Linked DNA regions of Homo sapiens: all the other regions are linked to region 2. The links are contacts of gene promoters, found by promoter capture Hi-C in blood cells and fetal thymus (Javierre and others, 2016). All regions are on one chromosome and are shown on one strand. Each heading gives the region's core, a stretch centred on a gene start or on the middle of the fragment in contact. The rest is flanking DNA. Distances are from core to core; before and after follow the strand shown.

What was found. The method cuts DNA at HindIII sites, captures the fragments that hold promoters and counts their contacts. A CHiCAGO score of 5 or more calls a contact.
Region 1: a contact is called between a fragment that was not itself captured here and the fragment with the promoter of SYT15 in region 2, in 5 of 17 cell types (total B cells, non-activated CD4 T cells, naive CD8 T cells and 2 more). The highest score is 9.5, in total B cells.
Region 3: a fragment that was not itself captured here is called in contact with the fragment with the promoter of SYT15 in region 2 in 2 of 17 cell types (total B cells and naive B cells); the score reaches 9.8 in total B cells.

Annotation. Positions count from the first base shown.
Region 1 is chr10:45,215,006-45,218,652 of GRCh38, reverse strand. LOC105378283 (a long non-coding RNA gene) reads left to right here. Exons shown (of 6, transcript XR_001747443.2): 2 at 1-6; 3 at 2,879-2,996. Among named protein-coding and RNA genes, the nearest start is that of MIR3156-1, 53 kb to the right of the region's middle. The HindIII fragment of the contact is 188 bases long and covers 2,288-2,475 here.
Region 2 is chr10:46,577,619-46,581,304 of GRCh38, reverse strand. It overlaps SYT15 (synaptotagmin 15), which reads right to left and starts at 2,177. Exons shown (of 8, transcript NM_031912.5): 1 at 2,130-2,177; 2 at 937-1,141; 3 at 269-411. The coding sequence starts at 2,136. RefSeq lists enhancers at 555-1,434, 1,435-2,312. The HindIII fragment of the contact is 10,756 bases long and covers 1-3,686 here.
Region 3 is chr10:45,232,389-45,236,258 of GRCh38, reverse strand. It overlaps the pseudogene CUBNP2. Among named protein-coding and RNA genes, the nearest start is that of MIR3156-1, 70 kb to the right of the region's middle. The HindIII fragment of the contact is 8,662 bases long and covers 1-3,870 here.

The sequences.
Region 1 (3,647 bases), core at 1,132-3,631, 1.4 Mb after region 2:
ACACTGGTGAGTTCAGAGCTGTGGATAGCCCAGGGGGTGGCTGGGGGAACAGCAGCAGGATTTTTGTTGGGATGTGCTTGTGGCCAAGTTTCTGTTGAGAATGAAAGACATGCTTTGGAAACTGGTAATTTTTCCAGTAATAATTAAAATACTCTATGTCCTGCAATAACAATTTATTGAATGTATTTTTTATGATAGGCATTATGTAAGCAGAGCCTGGCAGTTTATATTGAATTTTATTATTTCTATTTTTTCAATTTTTTTATTTTTTGAGACAGTCTCTGTTGCCCAGGCTGGAGTACAGTGGTGCGATCTTGGCTCACTGCAACCTCTGTCTCCCGGGTTCAAGTGATTCTCCTGCCTCGGCCTCCCAAGTAGTTGGGATTACAGGTGCCCACCACCATGCCCGGCTAATTTTTGTATTTTTAGTAGAGACGAGGTTTTCCCATGTTGGCCAGGCTGGTCTTGAACTCCTGACCTCAAGTGATCTGCCCACCTTGGCCTCCTGAAGTGCTGGGATTACAGGCATGAACCACTGCACCCAGCCTTATATTGAATTTTAAGATTATCTAGTGACAAAGTATTATTTGCTGTGTTAAGATGACGATAAGGTGTTTATTAGATGTGAAGTAGTTATATTTTCACCATAAGAAACCATAACACCCACTGCTTTGCCATTATAACCAGTGCTACAGTTGGTATGGATAATAATTGAAAACCCTGCCAGCTTGGAAACTTGGATTTACAGGATGGTTGCAGAGCTTCAACTATTGAGGAAAACATAAGAAGCAACTTAATCTCCATCTGATCAGTATTAGCAGAACCCTCCCCACTTTCTTCATGGTTTCCTAAAAAACTATTAATCTTAACAGAATGGAATGAACAGATGTGAGATCTTTTTATACCATATATTAATTCATTTTCTTCTGTCTTCAAACTTAGAACATTAGCTTAAAACAGTACCAAGTATGGTGCTGGAAAAGATTGTGTTGGGGAAATATTGGTTCATGTATCAAACAGAATAAACGCGAATTACATTAAATGGTAGTTTTAGTTATAGTACCCATACCTCATAAATATCCTTTTTATTTCATCTATTTCTCTGCATATACATTAATTATTCCTTTGGACTCTGTGTAGCTTATAATTTTAAGGGTGAGGTCAAATGAAAGGCACACATCAGAACGGGCAATTACTTGCAACGGGGGTTTGGCCTCATGGTTTTTCAGGACATAGTGCAGACCAGAGAATGGTAATATGGTTTGCAATCTCAATATTTGAATGGTAGTCTATGTAACTTGGTTTTCTTAACAGCTGTAAGTGAGGCCGGGTGCAGTGGCTCACACCTGCAATCCCAGCCCTTTGGGAGGCCAAGGTGGGTGGATCACCTGAGGTCAGGAGTTTGAGACCACCCTGACCAACATGGTGAAACCCCGTCTCTACTAATAATATGAGAATTAGCTGTGCATGATGGCCCATGCCTGTAATCCGAGCTGCTTGGGAGGCTGAGACAGGAGAATCACTTGAACCCGAGAGATGGAGGCTACAGTGAGCTAAGATCACGCCATTTCACTCCAACCTGGGTGACAAGAGTGAGACTCTGTTTCAAAATAAATGAACAAATAATAAAACAGCTGTAAGTGCTTAAGTCTTTAGGCCGTGTCAAAGATACCTATATGATTTATTATATATTTGTATTCTATAAAGTTGTTCACCCTTTGTTAGGAGGATGAAAATAATAGATAATATGATCGAAATAACATGCCATATATGCATGGGGTGTATTAATACACACACACATTTACTATGTCCCAGGCATTGTGCTAAGCCCTCTGTATGGATTAATCTTTCAAACCTCACAGTTTAATTGTTATTATCTAATAGGTAAGGAAACAGATTTAGAGAGCTTCATTAACTTGCTCAAAGTCACCCAGAAAATAAGTGGTAGAGCCCAGATTTGAACCCACACCAGCAGACTTCAGAAGCAGTGTTCTTAGCTTATCCTGTTTCGCCTTACTCATTTCTGACAGTCATATACACATACCCTGTGGAAGAGAAGAAGATGAACAGCTAATTCAGCGAGCACGCTGAGTGCCTGTGGCCATCTGGTCATGTTCTAGAAGCTATGGTAGCTACCCTGTCTGGGCTAATGATTCTGTATCAATTTAGGAATGCATTCAGGGACGCAACCTACCTATCTTGATACCATTTGAACCAAGGAAACAGGAACCTTCATCTTCTGAAAATACTTACACATAGTTTTTAAAAAATCCTACTCCAAAAAGCTTTACTGAAGTATTCACATAGATAAGTGCATATATGACAGTACAAGTTGACAGATTTTCAAAGCAAGAAACGTTAGTAGGTTGGGAGCTCCTGCTCTTCCCAATCACTCTCCCTTTAAGTCATGAGACTGCCAGCATCGTGAGCTTATACTGGTAGTTCCAATGGAAATACATAACAGACTGCAAAGCTTTTATTTAACTCCTTCTATGCCTCATCTGGGCCTTCTCCCTTCCTCTCAGAACCCTGCCTCTCACAGATTTTGGTGATGATAGAATTAGAACATCTCACAATCACGTGTTTGGTACCCAACACACAATTAACAATACTAATTTTACTAATGTCAGTATTGCTAAAAACAATTGTTTTATGCATATGCTATCTTCATTCTCCCTCTTTGAAAAAAAATAGGCTTTTTTTTTAAGAGCACTTTTTGATTTACAGAGAACTGGAGCAGGAAGTACAGATTCACATCTCTCCTCCATCTCCCCTTCCTAGTTTTCCATATTAACATCTTGCATTGGTGTGTTACATTTGCTATGATTGCTGAACCAATATTGATGCATTATTGTTTTTATTTTTATTTTTGAAACAGCGTCTCGCTCTGTCACCCAGGCTGGAGCGCAATGGTGCGATCTCGGCTCACTACAACTTCTGCCTCCCAGGTTCCAGTGATTCTCCTGCCTCAGCCTCCCAAGTAGCTGGGATTACAGGTATGCGCTATCACGCCCAGCTCATTTTTTTTTTTGATTTTTAGTAGAGACGGGGTTTCACCATGTTGGCCTGGCTGTTGATGCATTATTATTAACTAAAGTTTATAGCTAACATCAAGATTCACTCTATATAGTATAGTTTTATGGGTTTTGACAAATTAACATCATGTATTCACCATTACAGTATCATATGGAACAGTTTCACTGCCCTAAAAATCCTCTCAGCTCTACCTCTTCATCCCCTCTCCCTCATTATCTACCTCCTAAATCTCAGACAACCACTGAAATATTACAGTTTGCCTTTGTCTCTATAATTTTACCCTTTCCAGAATGTCATATAGTTGGAATCATACAGTATAAGGTCTTTACAGATTGGCTACTTTTGCTTAGCAATATGCATTTAAGATTCCTCCATGCCTTTTGTGGTTTGATAACTCATTTCTTTTTAGCAGTGAATAATACTCAGTTGTCTGGATGTACCACACTGTGCTTATCCATTCACCTGTTGGATGACATTTTGGCAGCTTTTAAATTTGGACAATTATGAATAAAGCTGTTGTAAACATTCTTGTGCAGATTTTGGGTGAATACCTAGGAATGTGATTACTGGATCATGTGATAAGACTATGTTTAGCTTTGGAAGAAACTATC
Region 2 (3,686 bases), core at 928-3,427:
CAGTTAAGACTATGTAAAATGGGGTGATAATTCCTCCCCCTCAGAGTCATGGTGAGGTCTCACTCCAAATCAGCACCCAAGGCCATATCTTACCCTCATGGGGTGCAGCAAGCACTTCATAAATGAAAGCACCCAGAAAGAGTGGTCCCTGGGTGGTCCCTGGCATCCCTGGCTGGTTCAGGTTGTGTTCCGGAGCCAAGCTGGTGAAAGCAGATGGGGCCACCCGAGCAGACCCTGACCTCTGGGCAGCCCTGGCAAGGACACTCACCAAGGCCGCCGCTGGAGGTGTGAGGCAGCAGCTCTGATGCCGGGCAGGGGTCCCATGGGGCATCGGCCCACTCTCCACTGTGCAGGGGCACCCAATCTCGGCCTTGAAGGGTTGGGGGCACCACGAATGGCACAGCTGGTGGCCTGTCCAGAGTCAGGGAGACAACATGTAGGTGGCAAGTCAATGGTGTGGTCTCAGAGCGCTCAGCCAGGACGGTTGAGCACCAGGGGCTGGAGGAAGAAAAGCCATCGGGAGCCAGGAGGAGGCCAGGGCACCATTTTCTGGGCCCATACCAGGCAACACACACACACACACACGCACACACACACACACACACACACACACACACACACACAGCAGTGGGATTTGAAGAAGGAACACAGCACCTGACAGTGTCAGCCAGTCTGGGTTTGGATTCCTGTTCTGCCACTTACTAATTGTGTTCTCTGGACCTGTTGCTTATGTGCACTGAGCCTCAGATTCCTCACCTGGAACATGGGTTTCATAACACCTGCCTAATAGCTGATGTGAGGTTTCTGGGGTTTCTTTGTGATAGCTCCCAGCACCGAAGCAGCATAGAAGAGGCACCCCCATAAACAGAACTTTCCTTTTCGACCCCACCCTGAGGGAAATTCCAGGGGCGCACTTGGCCCCACATCCTGCCTCACCTGCTCAGTTGGGTCCTAGCATGCGGCTGGCAGGGCCTGTCCCGCTGCCCACTGGAGGCAGCTGTGGTGGCCATGGCTGGTGTCCCAGGCAGCTCCTCATAGGTGAGGGTGGCACAGAACCTTCTCCACAGACAGCAGCTTGCCCCGATCAACAGCAGCAGCAGCAGCCCCCCGATGGTGCCCCCAATCACCAGGGCCAGCTGCTCTGGGGGCAGAGACCACCAGTACTATGATGCCTGCCTGGGAAAGCCACTCTCCCTCACAGCCCTGGCCTGCTGGGGCAGAACTAGGGCAGCAACCCTGCCTCTGGGTTTGATCTCAGGAGTGATAGGAGCAGGCCTGCTGGGGATGGGTTCCGGGAGGGATGCTGCTGGCTAGGTTCCGCCAGCTCTCAGAGGAGAAGCCGTTTACCCCAGGGTCTGAGAGCCCTGGGCAGAACCTTCTAGTTTTCCTTGGAAAACAGCTGGCCCTGCCCTTGGGATTCTGGCTTAAAGAAGCCATTTCCTTGCGCTTCTGAGTAGAAATCAAACCTGCCCTCACCAGAACCTCCATATCCCCTGGGCTCCTGTTGAGGCCAGGAGGGGAGCTGGGGTGTGGACGCAGTCAGTTAAGGAAAGCCCTGAAAGGTACCTTCCCCCTGGTCTGCAATCAAACCTCTACCCTCTGGGGCCCTGGAACCTGCTGCAAGGCTGGACTCTTCTCTAACACCCGCTCCCTCCCCTAGCCCTCTATCAAGGTGAGCACGCGCTTAGGGGAGTTGGTGCGACGCGGTGGACGAGGTGGGGAGGAAAAGGGGGCAAGACCCCGTTGCTGCTGGCCCTCACACGTCCGCATTTGCGGGACCTAGGAGGCTTCGCCCCGGGGGTGCTCAGACGCTGGGTTCCAACCGCTGGCCACCTGGGGCGGGCCAAAAAGGTGCCTCCCTTAGGGTGACGTGCGGCCGCGGGGCATTCAGGTCTCAGGGATCTGCACTGGGTGGGGTGGTGAGAAGGCCGGACCCCCCACACCTCCTAAGCCGCAACTGACCGCGAAGAGCGGGCCTCAGCGTCTACTCCATCCCAGTGCCCCTCCAAGAGCGCGCCGAGGCCGGGCAGGGCAGGCGCTGCACCCCAGCGGGGGCGGCGGGGCGGAGGCAAGTGCTGGAAGGGTCGCAGAGGGGCCGGGGCTGGGCTGGGGAGGCGAGGCTCGCTTACCCGCCATGGGGCTGCTCCCGCAGGCTGGTCTCGCCGGTCTGGGCGGCTGGGGCTGGGCTGCCAGGCCGTCTCTTAAAGCGCCGCGGGGCGCCGTCGGGCGAGCACAGGGGCGGTCCGTGGTGCTGCTGGTGCCCAGCTGCGGCGCGGGGAGCCGCGCAGTGCACGGCAGGGGCAGGGACCCAGCGCCCCGAGGCCGCAGTCCCGCCCCAGCCCGTCCCTGGCCCAGGCCCAGGCCCGGCGGTGGAGGGGCGCAGAGCCGACCGTGAGCTCCCGGAAACCGCAGGGCTCCAGCCAGGGCGGGTCCCGGGCGCCAGGGGCGCCAGGGGCTCCCTGCGGCTTGGGGCAGGGTGGGGTGAGAGTACCACCCCCATCCCGGAGAGCAGGGCTACAGCCTTCACCGCCGCGTCTGACACAGGGCTCCGCACCCGACCCCTCACACCTGGTGGCCAGGACTGAGCCCCCGCCCTCCCAGATCCTCCTCAAGCCGAGGCCCCTCCAGCCGCAGCTCCGACCCCGGCTCGGGGGAGCCTTCCCGGATCCCGGGGTGGAGTCTCCGCGCGGGTCCCCGGCCCCAGCGCTGCCTGCCTGATGGCCTTGGGCAGGGATGCGGCGCTCGCGCACCCGTTCGCTCTCAGCGGACAAACCGGTCGAGAGCGCAATTCTGGAGCGGGTTCCAGAAGCTCCTGGGTTCCAATTCAGGCTCCTCACTCGCCAGCCCTGCGATTTGGGACAACTTAACGTTCGTAAGCTGGGTTCAGTCTTCTCAATTGGGTTAATGTCCGTGAGGGGCTCTCGTAAGGGCGGCTGGCCTGCCGGTAACTTAAGAAGCATGTAAAGAGCACTTAGAGCGGAGGAGCGGCGCGGCCCAGCCCCTGTTACGGTGGTTATCGGATGGAGGCCAGCGTCGCCTGGGTCCCCTCTGTACACCCAGCGCCTATTATTATGGTGATTATTAGAACGCAGGGCCCGTGCCCACTAGTCCAGGCTGGCGAACGCGCCTTGCGGGAAAGGCGGGAGTAAGGTCGCTGCGTGTCCTCTCTGGTCACACCTCGGCGCGCCCTGGTCGCGCCCCTATGGTTCCCCCGCCGAGGCCTCGAGGCGTCTGAGTGGGGAGCGAAAGGAATGTGTGTATCTGTGGTGCAGGGGAGTGTGTGTGTGTGGGGGGGGGGAGGGGGTGGTTGTGGGGGAGTGCGTGTTTTGGGGGGATGGACCTTCTCGTTTTACAGCCTTGAAGGTTATGTCCAGAGTCATAGCCTGGGTCCCACACCCCCGCGTCACCTGTGCCTGTCCTAGGGGGCAGTCAGTGTGCGTGAGGCTCCACCCTGCCTGGGCTTTGGCTCACCTAAGGCGAGGAGGGTGGTGAACTGGGGTGCCCCACTGGGCCGGGTCTGGGAGCCCTCAGCGCCAGGGTGCAGAGGCCGCAGCCACTCCCCTTCTAGGGTCTGGGCGGTGGGGGCATGAGAAGGCGGAGACCCAGGCCACTTCACCCAGTAACTGTCCTCAGCTGTGCGCTTAACTGGCGAGATCTCCGCTCTACTTGGAGACAGTCTGGGGTGT
Region 3 (3,870 bases), core at 867-3,366, 1.3 Mb after region 2:
GAGGAGAAAGGGTGTAGCCCAAAGAAGAGGAACAGGAAAAGCGGTTTCTGCCTCTATTATTCTTGCAGAGTCTCAGCACCTTAAGAAAATGAAGTCTTATTGCCTAACAAGCCAGACTGGATGGCTTATACATTGTTGAATCAAACTTCCTGTCCTGTTTTCCTTGCAGGATGTGGTGGAACTCTTTATGGAGACAGAGGCTCATTCACCAGCCCTGGCTATCCAGGCACCTATCCAAACAACACGAACTGCGAGTGGGCACTGGTAGCTCCTGCTGGAAGGCTTCTCACTGTCAACTTTTACTTCATCAGCATTGACGATCCAGGAGACTGTGTCCAGAACTATCTCACACTCTACGATGGGCCCAACGTCAGCTCTCCATCCTATGGACCATACTGCAGAGGCGTGAGTAGAACAAACATTTTATATTCCCATTTGTTATGTTTAGACAATGAGTCACTTAATGTAGACTTTTTTTTTTTTTTTTGAGACAGAGTCTCGCTCTTGTCACCCAGGCTGGAGTGCAGGGGCACAACCTCAGCTCACTGCAACCTCCGCCTCCCAGGTTCAAGCAATTCTCCTGCCTCAGCCTCGTGAGTAGCTGGGATTACAGGGGCCTGCCACCACGCCCGGCTAATTTTTGTACTTTTAGTAGAGACGGGATTTCGCCATGTTGCCCAGGCTGGTCTTGAACTCCTGACCTCAGGTGATCCGCCCACCTTGGCTTCCCAAAGTGCTGGGATTACAGGCGTGAGCCACTGCGCCCGGCCTGGTGTAGGCTTTTAAAGGCAGACACATGCAGAGTACAAAGCACAGCCTTTAACAAATTGAGCAGTTTTCCGACTTGCCTTTCTATTCTCGGAGCATGAGTGCCATCTGGTGGGCATTGCATTAAATTACTATTAATAGTTACCAAAATCAGCTCTGCTTCAGAATCACCTGTGGAGTTACTTACATTAGACTTCCAGTTCCCACTGAAACCTATTGAATCAGGATTTCCCGGGGAGGAGCCACAGCATGCTGTTTTTTAAAAGCTCCCTCTGTGACGTCAGTGCACCGCCTAGGGTTGAATACCCATGTTTATTTCTGCATAAATAAAACTATAGAACATTTGGACACCTGGCTCTATTTTATCTACTTCTTGCTGAAAATTGCAGGAATTCTTTGAAGAAATGGTGACTGATAGTTTGTTTTTGTAAAGCTCATATCAGGGCTTTACAAACAACAACTCAGAATCTGATGTTGATTCAATATTGCAGGCATCTGTGCTTACGGTCCTCTCATTTTATGTGCAAGTAGATACTTAAAGAGAGTATGGGCTCACACCTGTAATCCCAACACTTTGGGAGGCCCAGGCAGTTGGATCACTTGAGGTCAGGAGTTTAAGATCAGCCTGGCCAACATAGGGAAACCCCATCTCTACTAAAAATACAAAAATTAGCCAGCATAGTGGCACACGCCTATAATCCCAGCTACTCAGTAGGCTGAGGCAGGAGAATCGCTTGAGCCCAGAAGGTGGAGGTTGCAGTGACCCGAGATTGCGCCACTGCACTCCAGCCTGGGCGACAGAGCCAGACTCTGTCTCAAAAAACAAGAGAGTAAGTAAGGGAAAAGTGGCTGCTGGCAAGTGGGTATCTGTTTCTAATTTTTCTGCTCTTTAATCACTTAGGCTTTGTAATCAAACTAGACAGAGAATTATATCAGCTGGAAATCTAGATGGTTTTTTAAAATATATTATTTATAAAATTGATAAATGCTATTTTCAGAAGTATCAGAAAATAGACTAATTTTTCTAACACCCTAGCATTCTCATATATTCTTAACACCTTTCTTTGAATATCTTTGCATATATTTTACATGCATATTTTTTACTGTTTGATGTTGTGTTTTTTCCACTTACCAATACATCATTAATATCTTATCTTAATAAAAACACTGGTGCATCGTATTTAGTTTTTGGAGAGTATTCCATTGCATAAGTGCAGCCTAATTTATTTAACGAAGCCCCTCTAAGTGGACATTTAGGTCTCTTGAACTTTTTGCAACTACAGACAACACTTAATAAACTTTTTGTTAGTGATATCTTTATACACGGAGTTACATTACTTGGTGAGAAATGGTGATCGCAGGACCAGCAGATACTGTATTACGGGGTTGCACAGAAGGCCCACAGACAGAGACCCCAGTAAATGTGCCACACATCAGATTTAGAAGCTAACCAGCTCTTAGACATTGAATTGAAATTTACAAACATTTCAAAAGGGAGGAAAAGAGACAATTTTAACAATATCATGACTTTATATTGACAGGTTTTTTTTTTTTTGTGGGCATGGTTTTCAGTGGCTTGCAAACATATAACCCCATTTGATCCCCACAGTGACAATCCCGTAAGGTGGAAAGAACAAGTATATCCTGGACTTTGCAGATAAAAGAAAACTGAGTCACTGAGAGAAGTGATTGCCATTTAATCCAGTGCCGCGTTAAGCTGTAATATATAGCGAGATACATCAATTTTTAAACTGTTGGTGTTTACAGTATTTTCCCAGTTTTACATTTTCTTTTATAAATGTAGATATAATTTCATGTGTAATTGTTTTTTTCCTTAAAGGTACCACTGATTTAACACTTTATAAATGTTAAACATAAATTTAAAAAAGTAAAACATAAGTATAAAATAGTCAATTTACATAGAGAGGTAGCTCTTATTTTGCTAATATTTACATACTTACAACTTTTTGTAAGTATGTAACTTTTTGTAAGTTGTAATATTTTGCTAATATTTACATACATACAACTTTTACATTTTACATACATACATATTTACATGCATATTCACATACAAAAGTCATATACTTTTTTATATATACTCCTTAAGTATACAATTCAACTTTTGTATGTATGTAAATATGCATGTAAATATGTATGTAAAATGTAAACTTACATTTATATACATACAATTTACATACAGAGGTGGCTCCTTATTTTGCTAATATAAATACAAACCATCCCCTGATTTGGGAGATATTTTGTGTTATGGTAAATACCATTGTTCACAGGGAAATCCTCTATCCCTTGCAACTACAGAATATGAACATCAAGCAAATGAAAGAATAATGGGAAAAACAAGGAGAATCAAAGGAGATTCTAAAACTTCTGTTGACTGTCCATACTAGTTTGTCAATATAAAAGAAGTTGTTGAAATTTGGAAGCAGATTAAAGTGGAGGTAAAAAGTAGACATGCATAGGAATAAAAATATTGCATATACCTTGATATATCTCTTACAGAAAAAAATCTATACTCACTTGAATTAGTGAGTATCTTGGAAATAAGTCTGTGTTTTGATGACTTGGGGTGGGGCTGAGGCAGGAAAACCCAGTAATGTGGGCATCATGAGAGCAGGGCTTTTTGCCTGTTTTGCTCATTTTTTAATATCCCTAGTACTAAAAACAATACCTGCAGTGTGGCAGTGACTTGATCAATATTTGCCAAATGAATGAACAGAAAGTGAGAGAAAACGGGGACCCATCTATTCCCCTCAACACACAGACAAACACACACTGTTCCACAGAAGTATATGAAAATAAATCCCAAGAGGAAGCTATAAACATTGAGGATGAAAATAGCATATTTTACTTAGTGTGATCATTTCACTTACATATGTTTCTTTAAGAAAAATTAAATTTGCAGTAAGAACTTGAATAAGAAGTTCAAATTTTTCGATAACAGTTTTATTGAGGTATAATTTACATACCATACATTTCCATACATACAATTTACATACCATGCAATTCACCTCCTTAAAGTATACAATTCAGTGGTCTTTAGTAGATTCACAGAGTTGTGTGGCCATTATCAGCACAGCCAATTTT